Linked DNA regions of Homo sapiens: region 1 is linked to region 2. The links are contacts of gene promoters, found by promoter capture Hi-C in human tissues and cell types (Jung and others, 2019). All regions are on one chromosome and are shown on one strand. The core of a region is centred on a gene start or on the middle of the fragment in contact, and the rest is flanking DNA. Distances in the headings are between cores, read along the strand shown. Region 1 overlaps LOC105371024 (a long non-coding RNA gene). Region 2 holds the start of ALDH1A3 (aldehyde dehydrogenase 1 family member A3).

What was found. Contacts are between HindIII fragments. The study calls those that stand out against the background at their distance.
Region 1: a fragment that was not itself captured here is called in contact with the fragment with the promoter of ALDH1A3 in region 2 in 2 of the 25 tissues and cell types used here (IMR-90 fibroblasts and lymphoblastoid cells).

What each region holds. Positions count from the first base shown.
Region 1 is chr15:100,744,104-100,749,991 of GRCh38, reverse strand. All of the region lies in intron 2 of LOC105371024 (a long non-coding RNA gene), which reads right to left. Among named protein-coding and RNA genes, the nearest start is that of GCAWKR, 100 kb to the left of the region's middle. The HindIII fragment of the contact is 6,250 bases long and covers 392-5,888 here.
Region 2 is chr15:100,877,897-100,883,672 of GRCh38, reverse strand. It overlaps ALDH1A3 (aldehyde dehydrogenase 1 family member A3), which reads right to left and starts at 3,842. Exons shown (of 13, transcript NM_000693.4): 1 at 3,667-3,842. The coding sequence starts at 3,765. LOC124903575 (collagen alpha-1(I) chain-like) reads left to right here and starts at 3,870. Exons shown (of 1, transcript XM_047433433.1): 1 at 3,870-4,727. The coding sequence starts at 3,870. The coding sequence ends at 4,652. RefSeq lists an enhancer at 2,796-3,310 and a silencer at 3,802-3,921. The HindIII fragment of the contact is 10,500 bases long and covers 2,658-5,776 here.

The DNA.
Region 1 (5,888 bases), core at 2,267-4,766, 130 kb after region 2:
CCTAAATGCCCATCAATGACAGACTGAATAAAGAAAATGTGGTACATAAACACCATGGAATACTGTGCAGTGATAAAAAAACAAGATCATGTCTTTTGCAGAAATGTGGATGGAGCTGGAGGCTGTTATCCTTAGCAAACTAACACAGAAACAGAAAACCAAGTACTGCATTCTCACTTGTAAGTGGGAGCTAAATTGTGAGAACTTGTGAACACAAAGAAGGAAACAATAGACATTGGGTCTACTTGAATGTTGAGGGTGGGAGGAGGGAGAGGAGCAGAAAAGACAACTATTGGGTACTGGGTTTAATACCTGGGTGATAAAATAATCTGTACAACAAACCCCCATGACATGAGTTTACCTACATAACAAACCTTCACATGTACCCCAGAACTTAAAACAAAAGTTAAAAGAAAAAAAAGAAAAAAAAATCATTGCCAAAACCATTGTCAAAAAAACGTTACTAGGAGTTAACATTACAATTGTGAAAGGAAAATGAATCTTGGGACCCCAAACTCACTAAGCCAGAGGGAAAAGCCAAGCTGGGAACCAGGTCATGCAAACCTGCCTCCCATTTTGATTCCTAAATAAGATGGTTACAAAGATGAAAAGCTACATACTTCCCTCACATTGTGCCCACATGAAAATTCCTTGTGGGACCCAAGATCTTTACCCTGAAGCGGTTCTGTTAAAGTTCACCACAGCCATGTAAATTGATAGCTTATCTTCACAGGTACAGAGACAAAGGACAGAACTCAAAGTCGTCCCTTTGTTCATCTGAGACAAATGCATACGTAATTGTTTCCTCTGCCCTGTTGTCTATGTTATCTTGTGTAAAAATGCAGATTCACTGAGCCAGACAAAGGCATGAATGACTATTTCCCCCTACCCCATTCACATGAAAATTGTGTATTTCTCAGTATCCTACCCTTTCCCTTTTGAATGTTGAAGCCCTCAAAATCATATTTAAAGAAAGGCATAGACCTATCTCCCCGGTGCATGTCCTTAACTTTGGCAAATACGTCTCCTAAAATGATTTTTTTAATTAAAATAAATAAATTAGGAAAAATTCTGCTTCTGGGAAGATGGAGTAGACATATCTTTCCCTAATTTCCCACTAAGCACAACTAAAACTCTGGACATTATATATAAAACAAACACGATAAGTCTCTGAAAGGTGATGAGGAGAAGGTAGGCTGGCTAAGTGCCTTAAGACTCAAGGAATGATGTGGTAGTGAGTTCTGTAGGGTTTCTTTTTGCCTCATATATCCTAAACTTGGAACTGAAAAAGCTGGCAAGCTGGAGATCCCGATGAACACAAACCACCACCACAATAACGAAAGCTTGCTCTCTCTAACAAAAGGGCCAAGAAAGGGGCAGCCTAGCAAGACAGAAAACTTGTACAGACTAACTGCTCTATTCCAGTGAAAACCACAGAAAACATTACCTACATCAGCAAAGACCAAGGAGAGAGCCTAGACTTCTTCCTTTGTGAGACTCTTAACACACACCAAAGGGTGACGTCAGAGAAGACCCAGTAGACACCTAAGATTTTCATCCCCTCTGGTAAGTAATGAGATATGAACCCCCAGGGTCAGTGGAGACAAGTTAGCGAGCTAGACCTCCCACCCACATCCAGCAACAACACAGAACCCCACAGCTTGGGTGTCCACAGAGGCTGAGTGAGGAACCTGCACTTCTACCCCTACCTGGCAGTAACAAGGCAGCACTCCTTTTCCACCTCTGCAAAAACAATGTCAGAGAAAGCTAGCTAAAACAGAAGATTTAAATATGGTCCAAATTTTGCTAACATAATACAAAAATGTCCAGATTAGAGTTGAAAATCACTCATCATGTCAAGAACTAGAAAGATCTCAAATGTAATGAAAAAGACAGTGAACAGATGCCAACATCAGGATGACAAAGACGTTAAAATTATCTTAAAGATATTTTAAAGAAGACAGGATAAAAATGCTCTAACAAGCAATTATGATCACGAAATACATCTAAAAAAAAAACTTAAGAAACAGAAATTTTCCACAAAGAAGATGTAAAGAAGAACCAAATGAAAATTTTAGAACTGAAAAATACAATAGCTGAAATAAACAGCTTAGTAGATGGGTTCAACAGCAGAATGAGGGGACAGAGGAAAGAATCAGTAAACTTGAAGATAGAAAAATAGAAATAAGCCAATCTGAACAACAGAGAGAAAATATTCTGGAAAAAAAAAAAAAGAACAGAGGGTTGGGGACTGAGGGGACTATGACAAACGATCTAATGTTTGGGTCATAAGAGTCCTGGAAGAAAAAGGTCCAGGCTGAAAAAGCACTTGAAGAAATAATGGCTGAAAAACTTACCAAATTTAGCAAGAGACATAAATTTACAGATTCAAGAAGTAGAACAAATGCCAAATGGAATAAACCCCAAGAAAAACATGCCAAGACACATCAAAGTAATACTTTTGAAAACTAAAGACAAAAAAAAAATTCTGAAAGTGGCCAGAGAAAACCATAACATCTTACCTATTGAGGAAAAACAATTTGAATGACAGCAGATTTCTCTTCAGAAAGCAAAGAGGCCAGAAGAAAGGGGTGTAATATTTTTCAAGTGCTGAAAGAAAGGAATTGTCAACCTAGAATCAATACCTAGTAAAATAGCCTTATGATTGAAGTGAAAAATCAAGACAGTTTTGAATGAAGGAAAACTAAGAAAATTGTCACCAGCAAATCTACCCTAAAATAATAAAGGAATTTCTCAAAATAGAGACAAAACAATAAAAGAAAGAATCTTAGAATATCTAAAAGGGGCTGGGGCCAATGGCTCGCACCGGTAATCCCAGCACTTCAGGATGCCAAGGCAGGCAGATCATGTGAGGCCAAGAGTTGGAGACCAGCCTGACCAACATGGCGAAACCCCATCTCTACTAAAAATACAAAAATTAGCCAGACGTGGTGGTGCGGCCCTGTAATCCCAGCTACTCAGGAGGCTGAGGCACAAGGATTGCTTGAACCTGGGAGGCGGAGGTTGCAGTGAACCGAGATCATGCCATTTCACTCCAGGCTGGTGACACAGCGAGACTCTGTCTCAAAAAAAAAAAAAAAAAAAAGATATCTAAAAGGAAGAAAGAACATGGAAAGAACAAAATTACTAACTAAAAGATTTTCCTTCTTCTCTTGAATTTTCTAAATTAAGTTTGATGGGAAAAGCAAAAATTATAACACTGTGTGATATGGTTCTAAAGATATGCAGAGGAAAATTCAGTACAGTTATAACTGGAGGAAGGTAAAGGGATATAAAGAGAGGGAAGATATCTATACTGAATTAACTGGTAAAATGACAATACTAGCAGACAGTGATAAATTATTTTATGTAATTTAATATTTAGAGCAATCACTAAAAAAAATTCTAAGAAATACACTCAAAAGCACTACAGATAAATCAATTGGAATTCTAAAAAATGTTCAAGTAACCCATAGGAAGCAGGAAAAGAAAACAAAGAAACAATGAAAAAAAGGAATAAACAAAATTTTAAAATGGCAGACTTAAGTTTTAACATATTTATAATTCTATTAAATGTAAATGATCTAAGTGCACCATTTATAAGACAGAGATTGGAAGAGTCTGTTTTAAATGGACAAAGTAGACAACATGCGAGAACAGATGGGCAATATAAGCAGGGAGGTAGAAATCCTAAGAAAGAACCAAAAAGAAATGCTGAAAGACAAAAACACTGTAACAGAAACGAAGGATGCATTTGATGGGCTTATTAGTAACCCATCAAAAGAAAGATAAGAAAGAGAGAAAAAAACAGAAAAAAAATACTGGAACAATATTTCCACCAAATAAATGTCACACACCAAACCATAGACCCAGGAAGTTCAGAGAACACCATGCAGGATAAATGCCAATAACACTGCACCTAGGCCTATCATCTTCAAACTACAGAAAATCAAAGAGAGGAAAAACATGTTACTACAAAGAAACAAAGATAAGAAATTATATCCAACTTCTCTTCAGAAACCATGCGAGCAAGAAGAGAGTAGAGTGAAATAAAGTGTGGGGAAATAAAACCCACAACCCAGCAACCTACAATTCTGTACCCTGTAAAATTATCCTTCAAAAGTGAAGGAAAAATACTTTCTCAGACAAACAAATATTGAGGGAATTCGTTGCCCGTGAACCTGCCTTGCAAGAAATTTTAAAAGAAGTTCTTTAGGGAGAAGGAAAATAATGTAGTTCAGAAACTTGGACCTACGTAAAGAAAGTATAAAGGTTGAAGAAAAAATACGTGAAGGTAAAATAAAAATGTTTATTTTTCTTATTCTCAGTTGATTTAACAGATAAATTTGTTTAAAATAATAATAGCAACATTGTATTAGATATATATATGCACTTATATATAAATAAAATTAGTGACAGCAGTGATACAAGAAATGGAGAAGAGGAATTTGGATTATTTGTTATTATAAGGTATTCACACAACTTGTGAAGTGGGATATTGTTATTTAAAAGTACACTCAAATTAGTTGTCAATGTATGTTACAACTCTAGGGAAACCACTAAAAAATAAAAAAAGAAGTACAACTGATATGCCAAGAAAGGAGAGAAAATGGAATGTAAAATGCTAATTAAGACCACAAAAGATAGGAAAAGAGTAGAAGACAAAAGAAGAAAGAAAGATGAAAGGCAACAAATAGAAAAGTGTAACAAATATGGTAGATACGAATCCAATGATATCAATAATAATGTTGAATGTCAATGATATAATATGAATCCAATTATACCAATAATAATTTTGAATGTCAATGATATAAATGCACCAACTAAAAGACAGTCATTGTCAGAGTGGATCAATAAACAAGACCCAACTATATGTTCTCTACCAAAAAAACAAAAAGCAAACCCACTTTAAATATGAAGATAAAAATAGGTTAAAAGAAAATGGACAAAATATTACAAAGTAAGGTTAATCAAAAGAAAGCAGAAGTAGCCATATTAATTTTAGAAAAAGCAGACCTAAAAGCAGGGAAAGTGATCATGGATAAAGAAGGGCATTACATAGTGATAAATGGGTCAATTCTCCAAGAAGACATAACAATCCTTAACATGTATGCACTTAACATCAGTGTCAAACTATGAGACACAAAAACTGATAGAATTGCAAGGAAAAATAGATGAATACACTGTCATAGTTGAAGATTTAAAAACTCTTGATCATAAATGGGCAGATCCAGCAAGCAGTAAATCAGTAAGGACATAATTGAACTCAACAACACCATAAATCAACTGGATATAATTGATACCTCTAGACTATTTCATCCAACAACAGCAGAATACATATTCTTCTCAAGCTCACATGGGACATTCACCAAAATGGACCATATTCTGGGCTATAAAATACACGTAATTAAAAAAACAAAAAACAGAAATCATTGAATATCTACTTTCAGACCCCAAAGTAATTAAACTAGAAATTAATGACAGGAAGATAATGGGATAATCCCCAACTACATAGAGATTAAACAACACCTTTCTAAATAATATACGGTCAAAGAAGAAAACTAAAGGGAAACTTTAAAATATTTGGGACTAAATGAAAATTAAAACATAACTAATAAAAATTTGTGGGATGCAGTGAAAGCAACACTTAGTGGGAAATTTATAGCACTGAATACACATATAAGAAAAGAAGATCTAAAAACAAACTAATTTCTATATTAGGAAGCTAGAAATAAAGAGTAAATTAAATTCCAAGTATGCAGAAGAAAAGAAATAATAAGAATTAGAACAAAAAGTAATTAAATTGAAAATAGGAAATTAACAGAAAAAAATCAATGAAATAAAAACGTGGTACTTTGGAAAGACCAGTAAAATTGATAAGCCTTTAG
Region 2 (5,776 bases), core at 2,593-5,092:
ATAGAATGTTAAAAAAAAAAAAAACCCACAAAAACCTCTGAAGCTCATAGTGAGGAAGCCTGGTCTGAGTCGGTTGGGGACCAAGCACAGGAGGCAGACTCTGGCTGGGCAGGTGAGCAGAGACCAGCTGCCCCCCAGTTTGGAATCCAGAACTGAGAGCATCGGTCACCATTGGGATTTGCCTGTCTGGCTTCTGGAAGCTTAGCGTCTCCAATGTGAGGCCAGGCCCCCAGGGAAGCGCACCAGGAAAAGGCCAGGCTACAATTACAGGTTTATTCTTCCAGCTGAAACTAAATCCAAGAGTTCACTTTTGCCATCCAGCAAGTCATCACTTGGTAACAGCGAGAAATTAATAACTGAGGAAGAAGAGTTAAGTTAGTGCGGGGAGGAAAGTGCAGCCAGGAAGAGGGGCCCATTTGTAGAAAGATGAAATTTCGTGGGTTAGATAATAGAGACTGTCAGTGAAAATTGCTGATTCTAGGTCCTTCCTGGTATCAACTCCAAGGGGGAGGGAAAATGAGAAGGTGGCAGAAGAGAATATAAATAAGGGGGCTGAAAACAGATTACAATGATCGGATGTCTGCTATACTGCTATACTTCATCTCCAAGCATGCTCCTCCAAAAAAAATTACTGTTTGTTCATGACATTGATCTGTAACCAGCAACCTTAAAAAAAAATCAGACTGTTTGACTCTAACCATATTTTCCCATCACTATGTTTTTAATTTTGTAAAATCTTTTACTTTATACCACACTACAGTAGTAAGTAATCTTGTAAGTGGTTTCTACTGTTGATTTTTCTCTCCATTAAAACAAAACAAAAGCACAAATATAAGGAAAGGGTATATAAATATGGTCTACTGATTATGCTGGCTGTATTGTTTTGAACTCCAAATCAGGGTAAAGGGTCTAGAAGGAATTGTTGTCTTTGATTTGTGGATTAGCATACAACAAACCTTATAGAGGTATAGCATTAAGCTACATTGAGCTGTAGACCTGGTTCACATTTTACAAAAGGAACAGAATGACATGGAAGCAGGACGGAGCTGTAAGGTGTCTCAGGCAGAGGTGAAGATGACAGTCATACAAGTGAATCCTATTGATGCCGATTTCCCGTAACTTCCATCTGACAACAGGCCACTCAGCTAAACTCAAAAAGAATATGTTTTCAGAAAAGGAGATTTGGGGGAATTTTATTTTTCATAAGAGAGATAATAAAAACCGGTGTTTTAAAAATCAGAAAACTTTGAAGAGAATCCCTGCTACTGGAAGAAATTTTATAAGGAAAGAAAGAGGCCCTCTAAATTAGAAGGGACTTCTATCCTCTGAGATCTGTGTGGGGACCCTGGAGGGGCTCTCAGCTCTCCAGAATCACACAGCATGACCCTAGAGAATGAAATGTTAACATGTGAGGACAAATGAAGGGGCTTTGACAAAGTCATCCTGAAAGTTGGACCACCCTGGGAAATGGCACTGCCGGGGCTAGGGCTCAGATGGACCAACTCTGGTGTGTGCCCCATTATCGAGAAGCACCATGAGTCAATTTTGGAAAATAGCAGACCACTGCTGGCTCCCATGCTCCACCGTCTGCTCTCCTGCCAGGCCACCCACCTGCCGGGCCACTCGCCCACTCTGGGCCTCAGTCCTGCACTTCAGTTTATCCCGCTCCTTCCCTCGGCAGGCACTCTTGGTGGCCTCACTCTCGGCCGCCTCTCCAGTCCAGTCTCCCTGAGGACTGTGCCAGGGCACTGGTTGGCCACCCTCAGCCACACAAGCTGCCTGGGTCCACAACTGCTATGGGGAGGTCTCTGCAGAGATGGGCCAGGAGCCAGGACAGAGCAGGCAGCAGCACAGTCCCCCAACGGGTGAGGAGCCAGCAGCCGGTGTCAGGCAGTTGGGGCCTTTATCGCCTGGGAGACCACTCAAGATCCCAGCACTCCAGGCCGATCCACCAGCTTCCCTCAGCCTCATTCCTGCACTGGTTCCCTTTAACTGGCAAAGGTTGCGCACCCACCAAGACAACAGGCAACCATTGCTCTGTGAATTGTCTAAGGTCTCCATAAGGGCTACATCTACACTTTAAAAGTGTCCTAAAAATCATAGAGAAAGAGGTAAACTTTTTGTATGTGGTCAGATTGCTGATAGGACTCAAAAACATAAAAAGTAAAAGGACCATAATACATTTACTGTCTGGTTTCTATATACAGTATTTTGAAATCCTGTACAACCAAAAGAAAACAAACAACCTCCCCACTTAACCATCAGTAGCAGCAGCCAAGCACCTGGGGTTAGGGTCTTACAAAATTCGGGTACCATTTTCACTCTTCCCAGAATTCGTGTTGGAATTTTCACTCTGAAGCTGATATTACAAATAAAACTACATTAAGAATAATTTCCAGCGTTTAGTTTACAGCGACGTGTCTTTGTTGATTACAGAGCCTTCTGAAAACAGTTAATTTAAATGTCTTGTGATCAGAGGCTCAGCCGACATTGGGAATTAAGTGCCAAGAGACCCAAATCTGAAGGCCACACATAGTGCCCTGCAACTTTCTCCGCTTGATTAAAATTCTTTGAGAAAGATAATTGCTACTTCTTAAAGTAAAACGGATGAGGAAATTCTCTAAGTGCGGTGTCAGCTGGAGTTGGGGGCTATGGGTAAAAGCAAAAATCAAGAGAAGCCAAAGGTGGGGAAAGTTAAGGCAATGGCTCTCGGCCTGGCCTGTGCCTCTAAAGTGCCCCAGCACCGGCCCACGACAGACGCGCACGCCAGACAGCCTGGGGGTGTCCTCCATCGGGTCGCGCTCCCGGACCCGGGTCTCTCGGCCCTCCTCAGCCCCAGCTCAGAGGCCTCGGAGGCCTCACCATCTTCTTTTATTCCTTTCTGCCCCGGGCAGGTAATCTCGCCGTTCTGCCAACGCTGTAGCCTCCCAGCCCACAGAGCGAGGAGGCAGAGAACCGTGCGCTTCTGCGGCCTCGCGACCCACCGCTTCCCAAAGGCCCAGGTCTGCGACCTTCCGGAGCGCGCGCCTTGTGTGTAAACACCGGGACCTCTGGGCTCCGGGGAGGTTTCGTCAGTAAGCGAGCACCTTCCTACTCCTCCTCGTTCTGCTGCTGAGCCGGGTATAAACTAAGCACGGAAGGCGCCCGCTGCGCTTTGCTCGGAGGACCCGCTTCCCCAGTCTTCCAACTGCAGCTCCGCCATCTGCCTCCCGGACTCTCTCTTGGCGCTCTCGGACCCTCCGACCCTCTCAAAGCCAGACTCGTCCACCCTGGAAATCATCGCAGGGGTTTTTGGGGAGGGAGCTCCCCAAAACCAGCGCGCTCCGAGTCAACGCGGCGCGCACCTCCACTCGCGATCAAAGCGGGCAGCGCAGGGACACGTCGGGGCCTCGCAGGGATGCGGGCGGCCCGGCCCCGCGCGGGCGCTGGACGGCCTCGGTTTCCCGGCTTCGAGGCTCACAGCGCCGAGCCCCGCCGCCTGCGATCCCGCCCGAGACGTCCCGCGAAAGGTGCGGTTTCTGGAGAGCCGCGCCCGGGCAGGGAGGCTCGGGTCTCGGCGGCGCCCGGCGGACCCCCGGCCCGCTGCTCCCTCGCCCCCGCCGCCCCGAGTCTGGCTGCCCAGCGCAGGGGCCCGCGGCCGTCGGGTGGGAGGGGCGCCCGCCTCACCTTGGTGAACTTGACCTCCAGGTTGCGGATGGGGCGCGGCAGGGCCGGCGGCTTCCTGTCCGGCTGCCCGTTTTCCACGGCCCCGTTAGCGGTGGCCATGGCTCCTCCGCGCTCCCTGGCCCGAGGCGCCCTAGTCTGCGGCGCACCGGCTCGGCCCGGACACTGCGCAGCCCGCTCCCGGGGTGGCAGCTCCCCGCCGCTTTATGCAGCGCCCCACGCCTCCCGCCCGAGGGGGCCGCCTAATTGGCTGCGGGACCGGAGGAAGGGAGGGCGGGCTGCGGGAGGGAGGAGAGGGGAGGGCGGCCGGCCCGCCTCACCCCGCCCCGCCCGCCGCCCCTGCGGGAGCCCGAGCGCCGGCGGCTCCACCCGCGTGCCGCGGACCGTCCCGGCGCCCGCGCCGCGCGCTCTCTCGCCCCGGAGGCTGCCTGTGGACGAGCTCCCCGAGGAGCCGCCGGGCCCCGGAAGTCGCAGGGCTGGGACACCCGACCCGGCAGGGAGCTGAGCCGCGGGGCCACGGCGCCCCGCTGCCTCCCCGAAGTCGGGCGGGCTCCCCGCGCGGCACATGCAGCCCACTCCCAGCCGCCGCACGGCGCGCTCGCCCGACTTCGGCCGGCTCGCGGCGCTCGGGAATGCGCGCTCTCCGCCGGGCCCTGCGCCGCGCCCGGGTCGGGGCTCCTGGCGGGGCCGCCCCGCGTCGCTGCGCACGTGCCCTGCTCTTGGGTCCAGCCGCCCGATCCCCGCTAGCAGGACAGACGCCCGCTGCGCCCCACCCTGCCCGAGCGCGGACAGCCGGCGGGCGCACCCCGGCCCAGCCGGCCTGGAGTCTCCCCGGGGCCCTGGGGCTTCGCCCGCGGTGGGGCAGAAGGCGAAAGCAAAGCGCCGGACCCGGGCGGCTCTCCGCCGAGGAGCCCTGGCGCCGCTGGGCCTCTGACCTTCGCAGGCGCACACCGCCTTCCATCCCAGAGCCCGGGGGGCAATTGATCTGATTTTTTAAATGCATAAATTATACCTCGATTAAAAAATGATAATTAAAAAAAAGCACATGAGACCTTTGCTGCTAATCGTTTTAAGAGTTTAAATTCTTGTCGCGCATTACTTCCCAGGAGGGGGAGGTAAGTCTAGCTCCTCTCCTTTTGCGATTTGGGAAACGCTCCATCAACTCCCAGGACTTGACCCAGGCCCCATCTGAGACACGGAAGCGGCTTCTGATGCATGCCATTCCTCAGGTCGCTGGAACAAAGACCGGAGGCACGGACTCCTGACAAAAGCTGTGCTTTAATCCTCAGATAGGCTCAGCCCCTTCAGTTCATCTCTTTCTGTAGGTAACCCCAAGTAATCAACAATGGGGAGGGGTCTCCTTATTTTCCTGTTTTGAGGCCTCCGTGTCCATCTCTCTGTCCCCTGGTGTCCTTCTGGATAGAGCTGGATAGAGGGGTAAGTTTTGAAGCTTTTGGAAACCCCACATCTGACCCTTACCCTGGGGTTGTGGAAAGGTCTTGTGCTGTTATGGCCTGGAGTGCACAGCTGAGGCCGGGGAAAGGGGATAATGGACCCTCGAGCGGGGCAGCCTTGACCGATATCGGCTGGCTAACACTGGCGAGTCTGAGCAATGCCAGCTCTTTCCTCAGCTGCTTCTGCAAATCCGGGGCTCCCTGCCCTCTTGGCTGGCCCCATGGCTCCCACTCAGATCTCCTGAAAACATCTGGGCAGATGTGCTATGCCACGGCCCCCGGCTGGGTGCTGAGCCCTAGCGTTTGGGTGCCTGAGCCCAAGAGGACCGTCAGGGAGTAGTGACAAACCCCTCCTGCATGGATGGAGGCCAGGGGCCCAAGGCCAGTGTGTGCAGCAGGCCCCAGGAAGCTGCAACTAGAGATGCTTTACAAACTGAACTCCCATCCTGAGACTTTATCGGGGGTCCTTGATGGTTGAAATTATGTCACTGCCAGGATTTTAAAAAAAAATCTGAAATAAAATTTATAGAGGAAACTGTGTTAATTAAATAATTGCTGGATTGATGGGGGAGGCAAATGGGGTTGAGCTTAGAACTCTGCTCCTTTAGGGAAGATAGTCGAGCCTGTTTGGTCAAAGATAGACAGTCACCACTTTGTTG